Regions from separate parts of the Homo sapiens genome. Here all the other regions are linked to region 3. The links are contacts of gene promoters, found by promoter capture Hi-C in human tissues and cell types (Jung and others, 2019). All regions are on one chromosome and are shown on one strand. The core of a region is centred on a gene start or on the middle of the fragment in contact, and the rest is flanking DNA. Distances in the headings are between cores, read along the strand shown. Region 1 has its middle 34 kb from the start of ZNF354A. Region 2 has its middle 8.0 kb from the start of MSANTD5. Region 3 holds the start of ZNF879 (zinc finger protein 879). Region 4 overlaps CLK4 (CDC like kinase 4).

Evidence for each region. Contacts are between HindIII fragments. The study calls those that stand out against the background at their distance.
Region 1: a contact is called between a fragment that was not itself captured here and the fragment with the promoter of ZNF879 in region 3, in 1 of the 25 tissues and cell types used here (thymus).
Region 2: a fragment that was not itself captured here is called in contact with the fragment with the promoter of ZNF879 in region 3 in 2 of the 25 tissues and cell types used here (dorsolateral prefrontal cortex and mesenchymal stem cells).
Region 4: a contact is called between a fragment that was not itself captured here and the fragment with the promoter of ZNF879 in region 3, in 1 of the 25 tissues and cell types used here (hippocampus).

What each region holds. Positions count from the first base shown.
Region 1 is chr5:178,762,894-178,766,384 of GRCh38, forward strand. It overlaps the pseudogene AACSP1. Among named protein-coding and RNA genes, the nearest start is that of ZNF354A, 34 kb to the left of the region's middle. The HindIII fragment of the contact is 4,639 bases long and covers 1-3,491 here.
Region 2 is chr5:178,688,111-178,691,331 of GRCh38, forward strand. No RefSeq gene overlaps it. Among named protein-coding and RNA genes, the nearest start is that of MSANTD5, 8.0 kb to the right of the region's middle. The HindIII fragment of the contact is 5,435 bases long and covers 1-3,221 here.
Region 3 is chr5:179,022,487-179,026,196 of GRCh38, forward strand. ZNF879 (zinc finger protein 879) reads left to right here and starts at 1,318. Exons shown (of 5, transcript NM_001136116.3): 1 at 1,318-1,418; 2 at 2,484-2,551. The coding sequence starts at 2,519. RefSeq lists an enhancer at 946-1,447. The HindIII fragment of the contact is 17,237 bases long and covers 1-3,710 here.
Region 4 is chr5:178,622,242-178,625,933 of GRCh38, forward strand. CLK4 (CDC like kinase 4) reads right to left here. Exons shown (of 13, transcript NM_020666.3): 2 at 1,015-1,175. The coding sequence starts at 1,175. Among named protein-coding and RNA genes, the nearest start is that of CLK4, 3.0 kb to the right of the region's middle. The HindIII fragment of the contact is 5,209 bases long and covers 1-3,692 here.

The DNA.
Region 1 (3,491 bases), core at 137-2,636, 260 kb before region 3:
CAGTGAAGTTCATAATTAGCTCCTTGAAACACCTGATAAAAAATATTTCAGATTCTTTTTTAAAACAACCATACTCAAGTGAGGTGAGGAGAGGCCGACCCAGGAATTGGAGAAAGCTATGAATGGTTCCTCTGGTTTGAAAGGAACAAAGCCCCCTAAATCATTATCCAGGTAACAGCACTGGCCTCCCAGAGCTGATATGCTAATTTGAAGGAGAGAGTGAATGTGAGTGGCTAACTCGAGGCTTGACATGTAGTACATGAACAAGAAATACTTGTTCCTTCCCTCCTGTTGGGCAAGAAGTTCACTGAGGGTAGACAATGCCATCCATTACTGTCTATATTCTGTGGGGTTCTCTGGGAGCCTGACACCAAGAGATTCTTAGAAAGTATAGCTAAAAAAGAATTTTTTTTTTTTTTTTGAGACGAAGTCTTGCTGCTCTGCCGCCCAGGCTGGAGTGCAGTGGCGCGATCTCAGCTAACTGCTACCTCTGCCTCCCGGGTTCAAGCAATTCTCCTGTCTCAGCCTCCTGAGAAGCTGGGATTACAGGCATGTGCCACCATGCCCGGCTAATTTTGTATTTTTAGTGGAGACGGGGCTTCACATGTTGGTCAAGCTGGTCTCGAACTCCTGACTTCATGATCTGCCTGCCTCAGTCTCCCAAAGTGCTGGGATTACAGGCATGAGGCACTGTGCCTGGTGAGAATATCCTTGTTTTCAGGAATTCACAATAGAGTATTTAGGGACAAAGGCACATTGTGTGTGCAGTTGACTCAAACCATTTAGAAAAAAAATACACATAAGTACGTGTGTATGTGTGTGTACGTAAGGAGAGAGAAAAGGATTAAGCAAATGTCACATAATGCCAACATTTGGGCAGTTTGAGTGAAGATTATCTAGAATTGTTAGTGCTATTTTTGAAACTTTAATTTGAAATTATATCAAAACACAGAAAGTAAAGGAAAGGAATACAGATACTTGCTTCCCAGTTTCCTCTAGAGCTAGCGGTGGCCATGAGATACAGTTCTTAGCCAATGAGTCGGAGGAGAAGGCTGCTGACAATCTTTCTGGGGAGAAACTTCCCCCTGGTCAAATAAGAACGGGCTTCAAAGAGACTTCTCACTGCACTGGCTGCCTCATTGCTTTAAGTATTTGAGGATGTGGTGCCGGAGCTGCAGCAGCCATCTTGTGACCATGAGGAAAAGCCCAAGAAACTCACAAAGCTTTCCCCATGTATGAGTTTCCGTGACACTGTTGCCCCACTTATGTTACATAGGATCATTCAATTCCTATACTCCTTCAATCCCACTCATCATTCCAGGCCCAGTGTCAGAACCTGTATCACTCAGGACCAGGGGGACAGAGCAGCCCCCATGTCAAACATGACCAAAGGGAAAAGAGAGCTTTGGAGACTCTTACATCAGCAATTAAGACCTGTGACGTAAAAATGATACGTCCCTTCCACTCACAACTCATTGGCCTTCATACAGCACATGGCCCAGCCTTGATTCCACAATTCTTATTCTTGAGGGGTTTTCATGCCTAAGTTTTGCCTCTTTTCCTCAACTATAAATTCCTCATGGTAAGTTTTTAAAGTTTTTAAAGATAATGATGCCCAGAGTTTTCTCCCAACTATTAAAATCATCACCTGAAGTCAGGAGTTCGAGACAAGCCTGGGCAACACGGTGAAACCCCATCTCTACTAAAAATACAAAAATTAGCTGGACAAGTGGTGCACACCTGCAATCCCAGCTACTCGGGAGGCTGAGGCACGAGAATCTCTTGAACCTGGGAGGCAGAGGTTGCAGTGAGCCGGTATTATGCCGCTGCACTCCAGCCTGAGTGACAGAGTCAGACTCTGTCTTAAAAAAAAAAAAAAAAAAAAAAATCAGAATCCTTAGGAGTAGGGCCTAGAAATCAGATTTTACAATTCAGGTAAAACATACATTTATAGTCCACAGCAAAAATTTTAACTGTACATCTCAAATATCTTTATTATGGTAAAATATACATAACGTAAAACTTGCCACTCCACCCATTTTTAAGTGTACAGTTCAGTGGCATTAAGTACATTCACAGTGTTATGCAAAAGTCACCACCATCCATTTCTAGAAACTTTTCATCATTCCAAACTAAAACTATGTACCCATTAAATATTCACTCCCCATTCCTTCTCTCTCCCCTTCCCTGAATAAGCTCTGGTCTACTTTCTGTCCCTGTGAATGTGACTATTCTGGGTATTTCATGTAAGTGGAATCATACAGTATTTGTCATTTTGTGACCAGTGTCTGTCACGATAATGGGTTCAAGGTTCATACACATTGCAGTGTGTGTCAGAACTTCATTCCTTTTCGTGGCTGAATAACATTCTATTGTAGGGACAGAACAGTAACCATTCATCAGCAAATGCTTGTGTTGTTTCCACCTTTTGGTGGTTGTGAATAACGCTGCTACAAACATTAGCTTACAAGCATCTGCTTCTGTCCTTGCTTTCAGTTCTTTTGGGTATATACCTAGGAGTGCAATTCCTGGCTCACAGGGTAATTACATGTTTAACTTTTTGAGGAGCCACCAGTGTGTTTCCACAGCAGCTGCCCCAATTTACATTCCCACCAGTAAGGCACCAGGGTTCAGTTTCTCCATATCCTCACCAAAGCCCAAGTTTTTGCTACACATATATGAACTCAAGTAACCACCACGTGGATAAAGACATCTAACATTTCCTGCATCCCAGAAGGTACCCTCATGGAAACCGGTATTGTTGCAAGCTCCCCAGCAGCCAGGGTCAAGAACCACGTCTTAAACTTTTAGGGGTTCTATCTCTGTCAAGGTTGGCTAACTCTCAACCTAAGAATAAGCCTCAAGTCTGAAGATGGAACATTAAAAATGACATTGTCACCTTGACAGAGTGGTTAATAACACCCCAGCGGGCCGGAGCCCATCAATCATGGGCTGCTGCCTTCTGTTTCGAGAGCTGAGGAAGACACCAAGATGGAAAGGAGGGAGGCAGCACAGGACAAGCTGGAGTGGCTGCCTAGGCACAGAAATCCCATACCACGCCTCCCCAGGCCTCTCCCCAGACTGGGAACAATAAATCTAGCAGCCAGATAGAAGCACTGCCCTCCCTGAATTCAATTTGCAAGGTCAACCAGGCCTAACAGAATTGTGACATCGGCGTCGCAGTCATTTACAACCCACTCTTGCCGTGTCTGAACATGAAAGCAATTATGTGATACATACTTTGGCAAGAACCTGAAGCTCCCATCAAGGGCGAGAGAAACACTGTCGAGTCAGGATATGTAAAGAAAGAACAAAGGAAAAGAAGGAAAGCCATAAAGACACATTCATAATGAAAATTTGAAAATTTCCACTTCCTTAGAAATCACATAAGAAGACTTAAGAGTCAGAAACCTTTTGAAAGCTCCATTGTCTTAAAAGTATAAATAGTATCTTTTTAGAAACCCACAATTTCAATCAAGCTGGAATAATGG
Region 2 (3,221 bases), core at 556-3,055, 330 kb before region 3:
GCGGGAGGATTACTTGAGGCCAGGAGTTTGAGATCAGCCTGGGCAACACAGCGAAACCCCATCTCTCCAAAAAAATACAAAAAATTAGCCAGGTGTGGTGGCATGTGCCTTTAATCCCAGCTACTACTCAGGAAGCTGAGATGGGAGAATTGCTTGAACCTGGGAGGCAGAAGTTGCAGTTAGCTGAGATGGTGCCACTGCACTCCAGCGTGGGTGACAAAATGAGACTCTAAGTAAATAAATAATAAAATAAAGTTATTACCATGATAAAGTTAATTAGCATGCTGCATTAGTCTGTTTCGCATGGCTGTAAAGGAATACCTGAGGATGGGTAATTTATACAGAAAACAGGTTATTTGGCCCACAGTTCTGCAGCCTGCACTAACACGGCACCAGTAACTGCTGGGAGTCCGGGGAGGCCTCAGGAAGGCTTTACTGTTGGTGGAAGGCAAAAAGGGAGCAGGCATGTCACATGGCAAGAGAGGAGGCAAGAGAGAGATGCCAGGCCCTTTTAAACAATCAGATCTCTTGGTAACTAATAGAGTAAGAACTCACTCATGACCTCAAGGACAGCACCAAGCCATTAATGAGGGATCCACGCCCATGACCCAAACACCTACTAGCCCTTACCTTCAACACTGGGGATTGCATTTCACATTATGAGATTTGGAGGCAAATATCCAAACCACAGCACTTACCCAATACTTCCCACACTTACCCCCTCCCTTTTTCGGTGAGAACACTTCAGATCTACTCTCTTAGCAAGCTTCAGTATAAAATATAGTATTATTAACTATGCTCACCGTGCTGTACATTAGATCTTTAGAATTCCTTCATCTTATAACTGAAAGTTTGTACACTTTGATCAAGATCTCTCCATTTCCTCCCCCACCTCCCTTCCCGGCAACCACCAGGTTGCTCTGCTCTCTGCTTCTATGAGTTGGAAATGTTTCTTCTTTTTAGATTCCATATATAAGTGATACCATACAGTATTTGTCTGTCTCTGTCACACTTCACTGAGTATAGTGCCCTCTAGGTTCATTTATGTTGTTGATAGGCAGGACTTCTTTTTTAAAGTGGCTGAATAATATTCCGCTGTGTGTGTATGTGTGTCAAGTTTTCTTTTTATCCATTCACCTGTCAGTGGACACTTAGATTGTTTCCGTATCTTTGCTACTGTGAATAGTGCTGCAATGAACGTGAGATGCAGATCTCTCTTCCAGATCCTGGATACATACCCAGAAGTGGCACTGTTGAATTATGTGGTAGTTCTATTTTTAATTTTTTTGAGTAAACTCCATACTGTTTTCCAGTGAAATAAGACAGTCAAAGAGGTTTTTCCATATCTTGGTACCAGGAGCTTTAACTCAGGTCCAACTCACCGTGGGCCCAGCGGGTCCCGGAACCCATTCTCTGGTCATTTCCCGGGTCCAGATGTGTAGTTGGAACAGACGTGTTCAGCAGCTAGCAGAGTTTCCACACGGGTTCCCTGAGCTATAAAGTGAGGGCAATTGTGATGGGAAAGGACAAATGGAAGGCGTTACAGCCATCTCTACCTAGAAAAATACTAAAACAAAAAACACACCAATACTGCCTTCCTGGAGGAATGATATAGATGAGTGCCATCATCAAAGACTTGAAGTATGGAGGGGTGGTGATTCCTACCCCACATCCTTGTCCAACTCTCCTGGCCTGTGCAGAAGACAGATGAATCCTGGAGAATGATGGTGGATTCCCAGAAGCTTAACCAAGTGATAACTCTAATTGCAGTTGCTGTACCAGATGCTGTTTCATTGCTTGAGCAAATTAACACATATCCTGGTACATGGTATGTAACTATTGATCTGACACACACCTTTTTCTCCATCCCTGTCCAGAAGGCCCACCTGAAGCAGTTTGCCTTCAGCTGGCCAGGGACACCTTCACTGTCCTCCCTCAGTTTAGATCAACTCTCCAGCCCCATGTCACAGTGTGAACCCAGGAGGCAGAGCTTGCAGTGAGCCGAGATCGCGCCACTGCACTCCAGCCTGGGTGACAGAGCGAGACTGCGTCTCAAAAAAAGGTATCGATTTTAAAACTTGATTTTTTATATATGTATATATTGTGCAATGAGCACCATAGTCAAGTCAGTTAACATATTTATCGCCTCACATAGTTAACCTTTGTGTGTGTGTGTAAGATGAGAACACTTAAGATCTACCCTCTAAACAAATTTCAGGTATAAAATACAATAGTGTTAACTATAGTCACCATGCTGTACATTCCATCTCCAGAACTTACTCATCTTGAGTAACCGGAAATTTACACTCATGACCAGCATCCCCCCATCCCCCCACTTCTCCCTCCCTCCAGCCCTGGAAACCACCATTCTACTCTCTTCTATGAGTCTGACTATTTTAGATTCCACATATAAGTGAGAGCATGCAGTATTTATCTTCCTGTGGCTAGCTTATTTCACTTGCAAATGGACTTTATGAAGCTAGTATTATCCTGATACCAAAACCAGAAAAAGACAGTACAACAAAACTGTAAAACAGCATCTTTCTTGAATACTGATGCAGAAATCATTAATAAAACATTACTAATACATCAATAATAGATGAAAAAATTATATGATGGACAATTGATGTACTCCAGAGATATGAGGCTGGTTCAATGTTTGAAAAATCAATCAAAGAACAAAGTAGGAAGAATTAATTTATATGATTTAATAACTTATACAGCTATAGTAAACAAGGGTGTGTGATATTAGCAGAGTGCAGACCAATGGAACAAGGTAGAGAACCCATGACAAGAACCACACAAATATGCCCACCTAATTTGTCACAAAAATGCAAAAGAAATTCAACGCAGAAAAGATAGCCTCTTCAGAGAAGAGCAACTGGACATTCACAGGCACATACACACAAAATGAACCTTAACCTAAACTTCACAAACCTTAATCACAATTTAACTCAAATGTACCAGGGACTTAAATGCAAAATGTAAAACTATAAAACTTTAAGAAAAATATAGGAAAAAGTCAGCCGGGCACAGTGGCTCAAGCCTGTAATCCCAGCACTTTGGGAGGCCGAGGCAGGTGGATCACGAGGTCAGGAGGTCAAGACCATCCAGGCTAACACGGCGAAACCCCGTCTCTACTAAAAATACAAAAAATTAGCCAGGCGTGGTGGCGGGCGCCTGTAGTCCCAGCTACTCGGGAGGCTGAGGCAGGAGAATGG
Region 3 (3,710 bases), core at 68-2,567:
ACATTTAATTTTTTTTTGAGGAACTGCCATACCGTTTTCCAGCGCAGCGCTACCATTTTACATTCCCACCATTAAGGCACAAGGATTGTTTTCTGGTTTTCTTTTTTTTCCAAATTTTATAATAGCCAACCTAATGAGTGTGAAATCGCAGTGGATGTTTGATCTGCTTTGATCTGCATTCCCCTAATGATTAGTGATGTGCATTATTATCTTTTAACAATATAAAACATCCATTTTGTTCGATTTAATTATTTTTACATTGCAATAATCTTTGTATTGTTGTAACATCGTGATCCAAGATTTCTTTTTCATATTATCTACCTGATATCTCTTAGTCCCTCTCTGCATTTTCTATCTTCAAGTACCCTTTGTGTTTAGGTTTGTCTCTGTAAACGCTAATGTTTGATATTTTAAAAATCAACACTTTCTGAGCACATAGTATTTGGCGTGTACAGTGCCGGTCACCGAGGATGCAGTTGTGATGATAGCGCTGGGAGTTGGGCTTTATTTTACGTTTTAAAGAAGTCACTTCAAAAGAAGTGAGTGCCATGAAGAGGGAAATACTAGGCTTATGCTTTTGTTTTACTCTGAGTGCCAGTAAATATGTAAAGATTACAAAAATTTATTTATTTATTTATTTATTTATTTGAGACAGAGTCTTGCTCTGTCACCCAGGCTGGAGTGCAATGGCGCGATCTGAGCTCACCGCAACCTTCGCCTCCCAGGTTCAAGCGATTCTCCTGCCTCAGCCTCCCGAATAGCTGGGATTACAGGCATGTGCCACCACGCCCGACTAATTTTTCGTGTTTTCGTAGAGACAGGGTTGCACCATGTTGGCCAAGATGGTCTCGGTCTCCTGACCTTGTGATCCGCCCACCTCGGCCTCCCAAAGTGCTGCGATTACAGGCATAAGCCACCGCGCCCGGCCGAGATTATAAAATTTAGACATAATTCATTTTTAATTAAAATCGCAGAATGGACTGTAATAGTTCTGTCACCACCTGCGAATAATCAGCAGCGGCTAGTCTTCCAGATTTAAAAATTCATACTCACTTTTCCGTCTTACTATTTTTGTCATTCTAATTACGAATACAATGGGTGGTTTAGCGGAGGGAGAGTAGTTGGAGCCCAAGCTGAGGGACTCGGCTTCAGCCTTCTCGAACTCCACAGCCCGACCGCGTTCTCCGCTCTCGGCGCTGTGGTTCTCTCTCGGACACCGTAAGTGGTGGTGCCGCAGCGACGTCTGGGAAATGAAGTCCGGAGGGACAAACGCTGCGGTTCAGCCAGGGAAACCCGTCGGCTCTCCGGCGCGCAGGCGCAGTTGCGCCCGGCAGCGACGGGAAACGTCTCTGAATTAGGTGTTCCGCTCGCCTCTTGTGCGGTGTGGAGCTGCGCGCCCCCCGCCGAGGCGGGCCCAGGTACAGGCTGCCGGTGAGGGCGGGCCCGGGGCGTGCGGCTGCCGCGGCGGGACCAGGACGAGGGCTGGCCTCTGCGCGTGTCTGCCGAGTCCCCGGCTCCGGGCGTCCGAGCCGGGGCGGCCTCGGCAGGTGAACCCGGCCCCGGAGGGGGCGTGGCCTGGGAAGGGCCTGGCGGAGGCCGGGAGGGCGCTTCGACGCCGCTGGACTCCTGGGCCGCAGCCTGGGCCGGACTCCGGGGGAAACGGCTCCAGAACAGAAACTGCAAAATGCCGCCTCGGTTCAGGGTCCGGAGCCCTCCGGGCGGTTTTTCGCTCTTAGTGTTTGTGGGTTTAAGCCTCCCCCTACTCCGTTTCCCGGAGTTTAAACTTTAGATTTACTCGTTTTTGGCAGTCTTGCACGTTTGGCAGTGTTTTCCTACAGCCAGTCCTAGAGTGATTTAACTATTTCTTTTTTTATTTACCGTAACCATGTCCACTTGCTACGTTTCTTCCCATTTCTCTAAATTTTAAATCAATTTCTAGCTAGTGATGCTGTTTTCTTGCGCCCTTGTTTTTTTGGGGCCAGGGAGAATGGGTAACGCTACCTTTAAGCAGCTTTGATAACTGTTTTTGATAAAGGAAGTAAATCTTACAAGAGGAAGAAAAGAGGACTAATTTTTGGTTGGCTGTTCCTAAAAAAGAGCATCAGTTCTTCAACTGCTGTTTTTCGTATTGAACAACATCCAAGTGCAGATGTGTGGAATATTGTGTCATTTCCTATTACTTTATCTGAATGAGCCTTGCCTGATTCTGCCCTTGACCCTGTTAAGGCACGGCAGATGGTCTTCATCCCTTCGCTCCTTTCGTCTTTATCGTAAAGCACTGGCAGAAAGGTAGCAGGCCCGGTGACTCTGAACCTGCTTCCCACACTGGTTTAAGTGGCCGGACTTAGGGCCCCTCTGGCCTGGGCAGTTCCAGGCTCCTTCTCTGCAGGTGCTCAGCTTATGGCTTCTAACCTGGTCTGGCCTAATGAGGGTGGGCATGCAGGCTGGATGAAAAGACCTCACAGCTTTTTTCTCCATTCCAGGTGCCTTCTCCAAGAGAGGCAGCAGGGAGGGAGAAATGGCAAGGAGGTTGCTGCCAGCCCATGTACAGGTGAGTGAAGGCTTCTTTTTGCTTGAACTGCCTTCAGGGTCTAGACGTGGTAAACTTCTTCATCTGTTGTTGAGCTTCTCTACCCAGTGAAGCTCAGGGAAGGACCAGAGGGCTTGGTAGCTGAGAAACTCTGGAAGGAAGGTGTTTCCCTTGCCTCAGAGCCTGTCTCATGCTTTTTTTTTTTTTTCTTTCCCTTTTTTGAGACAGGGTCTCACTCTGTTACCCAGGCTGGAGTGCAGTGGCACGGACATGGCTCACTGCAGCCTCAACCTCCCTGGTAGCTGGGACTACAGGCATGTGTGCCACCACACCCAGCTAATTTTTGTATTTTTAGTAGAGACCAGGCTTCAACAAGTTGGCAAGGCTGGTCTTGAACTCCTGACCTCAAGCAATCTGCCCGCCTCAGCCTCCTAAAGTGTTGGGACTATGGGCGTGAGCCACCGCGCCCGGCCCCCAGTCTCATGCTTTTTGACAAAGAATTTAATGGGGCTCCAATGCCAGGCCACTGCCACTACCAGAGCTTTGTGAAAGATCCAGGTGTTTTTGCCCTGTGGAGGACAAAGACACGGAGGAGTTAAATAATTCCTTCCTAACACGGGGAATTTGAAAAAGAGAGGCCCTGTATTCCCAGGACCTTGGGAGGCCAAGGTGGGCAGATCACTTGAGGTCAGAAGTTCAAGACCAGCCTGACCAACATGGTGAAACCCGGTCTCTACTAAAAATACAGAAGTTAGCTAGGGATGGTGGTGCATGCCTATAGTCCCAACTGCTCTGGAGGCTGAGGCAGGAGAATCACTTGAACCCGGGAGGCAGGGGTTGAAGCGAGCGGAGATCATGCCACTGCACTCCAGCCTGCGTGACACAGCGAGACTCCGTCTCAAAAAAAAAAAAAGCCAGGTGTGGTGGGTCTGGTGGTGCGCTCCTGTAATCCCAGTTAGTCCGGAGGCTGAGGCAGGAGAATCACTTGAACCCGGAAGGTGGAGGTTGCAGTGAGCTGAGATTGTGCCATTGCACTCCAGCCTGGTGACAGAGCAAGACTCCATCTCAAAAAAAAAAAAAAAAAAACAAAGAAAGAAAAATATGTCTGAAGGAGATAAGCTTTGTACGCCTTTGTGATTCTGTACAGGATGCTCAATTCAGCATTTCTAGAGTATGAACA
Region 4 (3,692 bases), core at 1,082-3,581, 400 kb before region 3:
AATTATCTCTGGTCTCTGAAATCCTGTCATAAACCTTCCCCCTTCCCCTTATATAACAATGCGTATGAAGCATGATTTGTCTGCACTGACTACAAATAAGCTGTTTGGCAGAACAAGTCTGTTAACGTGGAGAAGGAAAGAAATTACATACTGTTTTTTAAAGTAACCCCAGCTGGCTAATTTAGAAAGCAATCTGGTAAACAGTCCCAATGGAACATCTGCACAAAACGAGAAAACAGAACCAACAAAACAAACGAAAAAGGGAAATTAATGAAAGAGTGAAAACTTACCTAGCCTTTCTTTAATCATTTAGAACTTTAAGATTCCTTTAATTCTATATAAATATATTACCTCCAAATTGTACACTGGTAAGAATACAATAAAACAGCACACATGCTGTTGCAAGTTTTTATTGAGGCCATTTCCCAAATTACTAGCTACTACCTATGCAAAAGAATAGTTCTTAAATAAAGCCAGCTTCTAAAAATCCCAAACATATCCCTTGGCCTCATCTACAAATATAACCTGTACGACATGGTATAAGTGACTAATAATACATGCTGCTTTTCTCTGTTGGAATAACTCCTCCCCTATAAAACCCTACCTTATTTCTGAAACAATGAGCACTACAACATACCCATCTCCCTCCTACATACAAGTTAAAGGTACTCATTGGGCATTCTATCACTATTACTTAACTTTTTGTGTGTCATCTCCCTAATCACGTTACTGGCAGTTGGGACTCACCATGTTATTTAATACATTTCACATTCACTTACTGATCAACTGTCTCCTACCACTCCCAGGCAGACAGACATACATAAGGATAAGAACTTTGTTTTATTTACAGCTGTAGCCTCAGCGCCTATCTAAAATAAGTACTCAAATATTTTCTAAACGAATATTTGTTGACTGAATTATAAAACAATTTGACAGATGAAAGCTATATAAGCAAATGACAAATCATTTAAAACTATTAGAGCTAAAATGCTAGTAGTTCAAGAGTTAATTTACCAATCAGATTCTTTAAACTGGTGATGTGGTTTACAATGCCTGTTCTCTTGTGTGCTACTATGAGATCTCCTCTTCCGCTTGTGACTTCCACGATAGCTTTCATGTCCCCAGCTTTCTCTGCTATCCCAATCAGGACAGTGAGTTCTTTTGGAATGCCGCATCTGTTGATAGAAATGAAAAGGGAATTGTGGAGGTTACAGATGTGTGATAGGTAAATTATTATATATTAATATTATTTAAGTTATCAAAACCCAACACACAGGGTCTTACAGGCTCCAAAATCTTTTTAGGTGGTAATGCTTCCCAAGGCACTGGTATGTCAGATGACTGCTAAGAGGCATAGAGATCTAGTATTAAATTGTGGGTAATACTGATACCTTAAGACATTTTTTTTTTTTGAATTCTGATTACAGCCAGGACAAATTCTCAGCTTGGTGCTTGTCTTCAACTAACACTTGCTAACTGCCTTTTTAAAAATTAAAAAAAAGCCGGGGGGGGCAAATAAAAAGGTTCAGGCCTAGTGTTTCCAGCAGACAAGAGTATTTAGCTAAAAATTAGTAACGTTTTTATTTATCTTATTTTGTTACTTTCTACTTATTAGTGATTTTCCAATTAAGTTATTGACATATTTTCTTTTAAAAATGTTAACATTAAAATGTGAGCTGATTTAAGGAGAAATAATATCAGTGTCATGCAGCTTTGGCAAAGTACTGTAATACAAATAACTGAAGTGCAAGACAAAAACACTTAGGGATACTAAATATGGGAGGTGACTTTGTTTTAATGGTAAAGAGCTATTCAATGATGAAGCTTCTTTTTCTCAAATTCTCCATAGTTCTTTTCTCTAAATCTCAGAATGACTCTAAGCTTTGAGAATATTAGTTCTGTGTGGATAGAACACAATATTCAACAGAGAAACTGAAGAGATATAAAAAGGTGATTTTAGGCCGGGTACGGTGGCTCATGCCTGTAATCCCAGAATTTTGGGAGGCCAAGCCCAGGAGTCTGAGACCAGCCTGCGCTACACATAGTGAAACTGTCTCTACAAAAAAAATTTTTTTAAATGTTTATGTGATTTTATGAACTCATTTTCTCTATCCAACAAGTTCATTTTCTTATCCAGCAGTTATTCTTAACCTTAAAATCTATTTGTAGTAAATCTGGAGTAACTCTGAAAAAGAACTCAACCTACAAGGATGCACACTGAAGCATGGTCACAGTGAAAGCAAACGATAACGGTGACAGCTGACTTTATTTACAAACTCCAGTGCATAACCTGGGTTCCTTCCAGGCTCAGCATCTGCGCTCAAACAATATAACCCCTATCTGTCTCTCCCCATCTTAATTATTTTCCAAAACAGTTAAGTTTTAACAGTCAGGTCCAAATTCTCCTAAACAGGGTGAGTTTAAATGGTAAAAAGAGAAGAATTTCACAATTCAGCAAGGAGCTGAAAAAAGCTAAAATGGAGTAAAACCCACTCAGTTAACCTCATTCAGCTTGCCCAAATGACTAATAAGCAAACAAATGCAAGCAGAAATTTAAATGATTTTAAATGGATTAAAGGTTTTGGAGTGAGGCAGCTTCAATTCTTCTGGGAGGTATTCCACAAGAAAGTATGTGTCACGCCATCAGAGTCTGATTGCCACCAGATAGTCAGATATTTTAATTCACTCTCTTGCTGATTCTAATTCTATACCCATCAAGCATCCTTCTAAGGTGGCTCTCAGCTCACTTTACAGAGGAAGAGAAGGCACTGATCAGGCCAAACAGCAATTCTAAAACTCTTGTTAGCGTCTCAATGGAAGTGAGCATTCCGGTTTGATACAAATGGAGTCACTTCCATATGGGAACGTGACATGAATAACAGCACACATTTACTTGAGGCAAAAGGCCAAAACACAAACTTTCTTCATTAGAGCTATCAAGAAAAATTTATGGCTGGACGCAGTGGCGCCTCATCCCTTGAGCCCAGGAATTCGAGACTGGCCTGGGCAACACGGCGAAACCCTGCCTTTACAAAAAATACAAAAAATTAGCCGCACATGGTGACTCGAGCCTGTAGTCCCACCTACTGGGACAATCACTGGAGCCCAAGGAAGTCAAGGCTGCAGTGAGCCATGATCACGCCATTGCATACCAGTATGGGCGACAGTGAGACCCTGTCTCAAAAAAAAAAAAAAAAAAAAAAAGAAAATGTGTATTTCAAGTGCAGTTCTTCTGAAGCGTTCCGTCAAATACCAAAGTTGTATTTTAACCACATCAGGAACTCAGCTTGGTTAAGCATTTTTAAATCATAGCAAGCAAAATCACATCTGATGACCGAGCGTTATTATTATGACCCTCCATTACTATGAAGTTTTTTTCAAGACTTATGTATCTTCTTCAGTTTTGTTTTTTCCTCTTCTACTGTAAGTCTGCTTACAACCAGCTAACCTCCAGCAAAACAGAACTCTCAAATTATCAGTTAATATGCAAACATTAAAATAAGAACGAGCTCCGTTGTGAGAGTCCAAAATTCTTCTCAAGTTCACTACTTCAAATGTAATTCAGCTGTTAGTCCCAGCCTCTGACCTCCCCCACTCACCCTGCAATGTTCAAAAATATTTTATCTGGAGGCACAAAGATCACCCGACCCACGTTCTACGTGGTAAGGTTCCTTCGCATACATAAAAAAGAA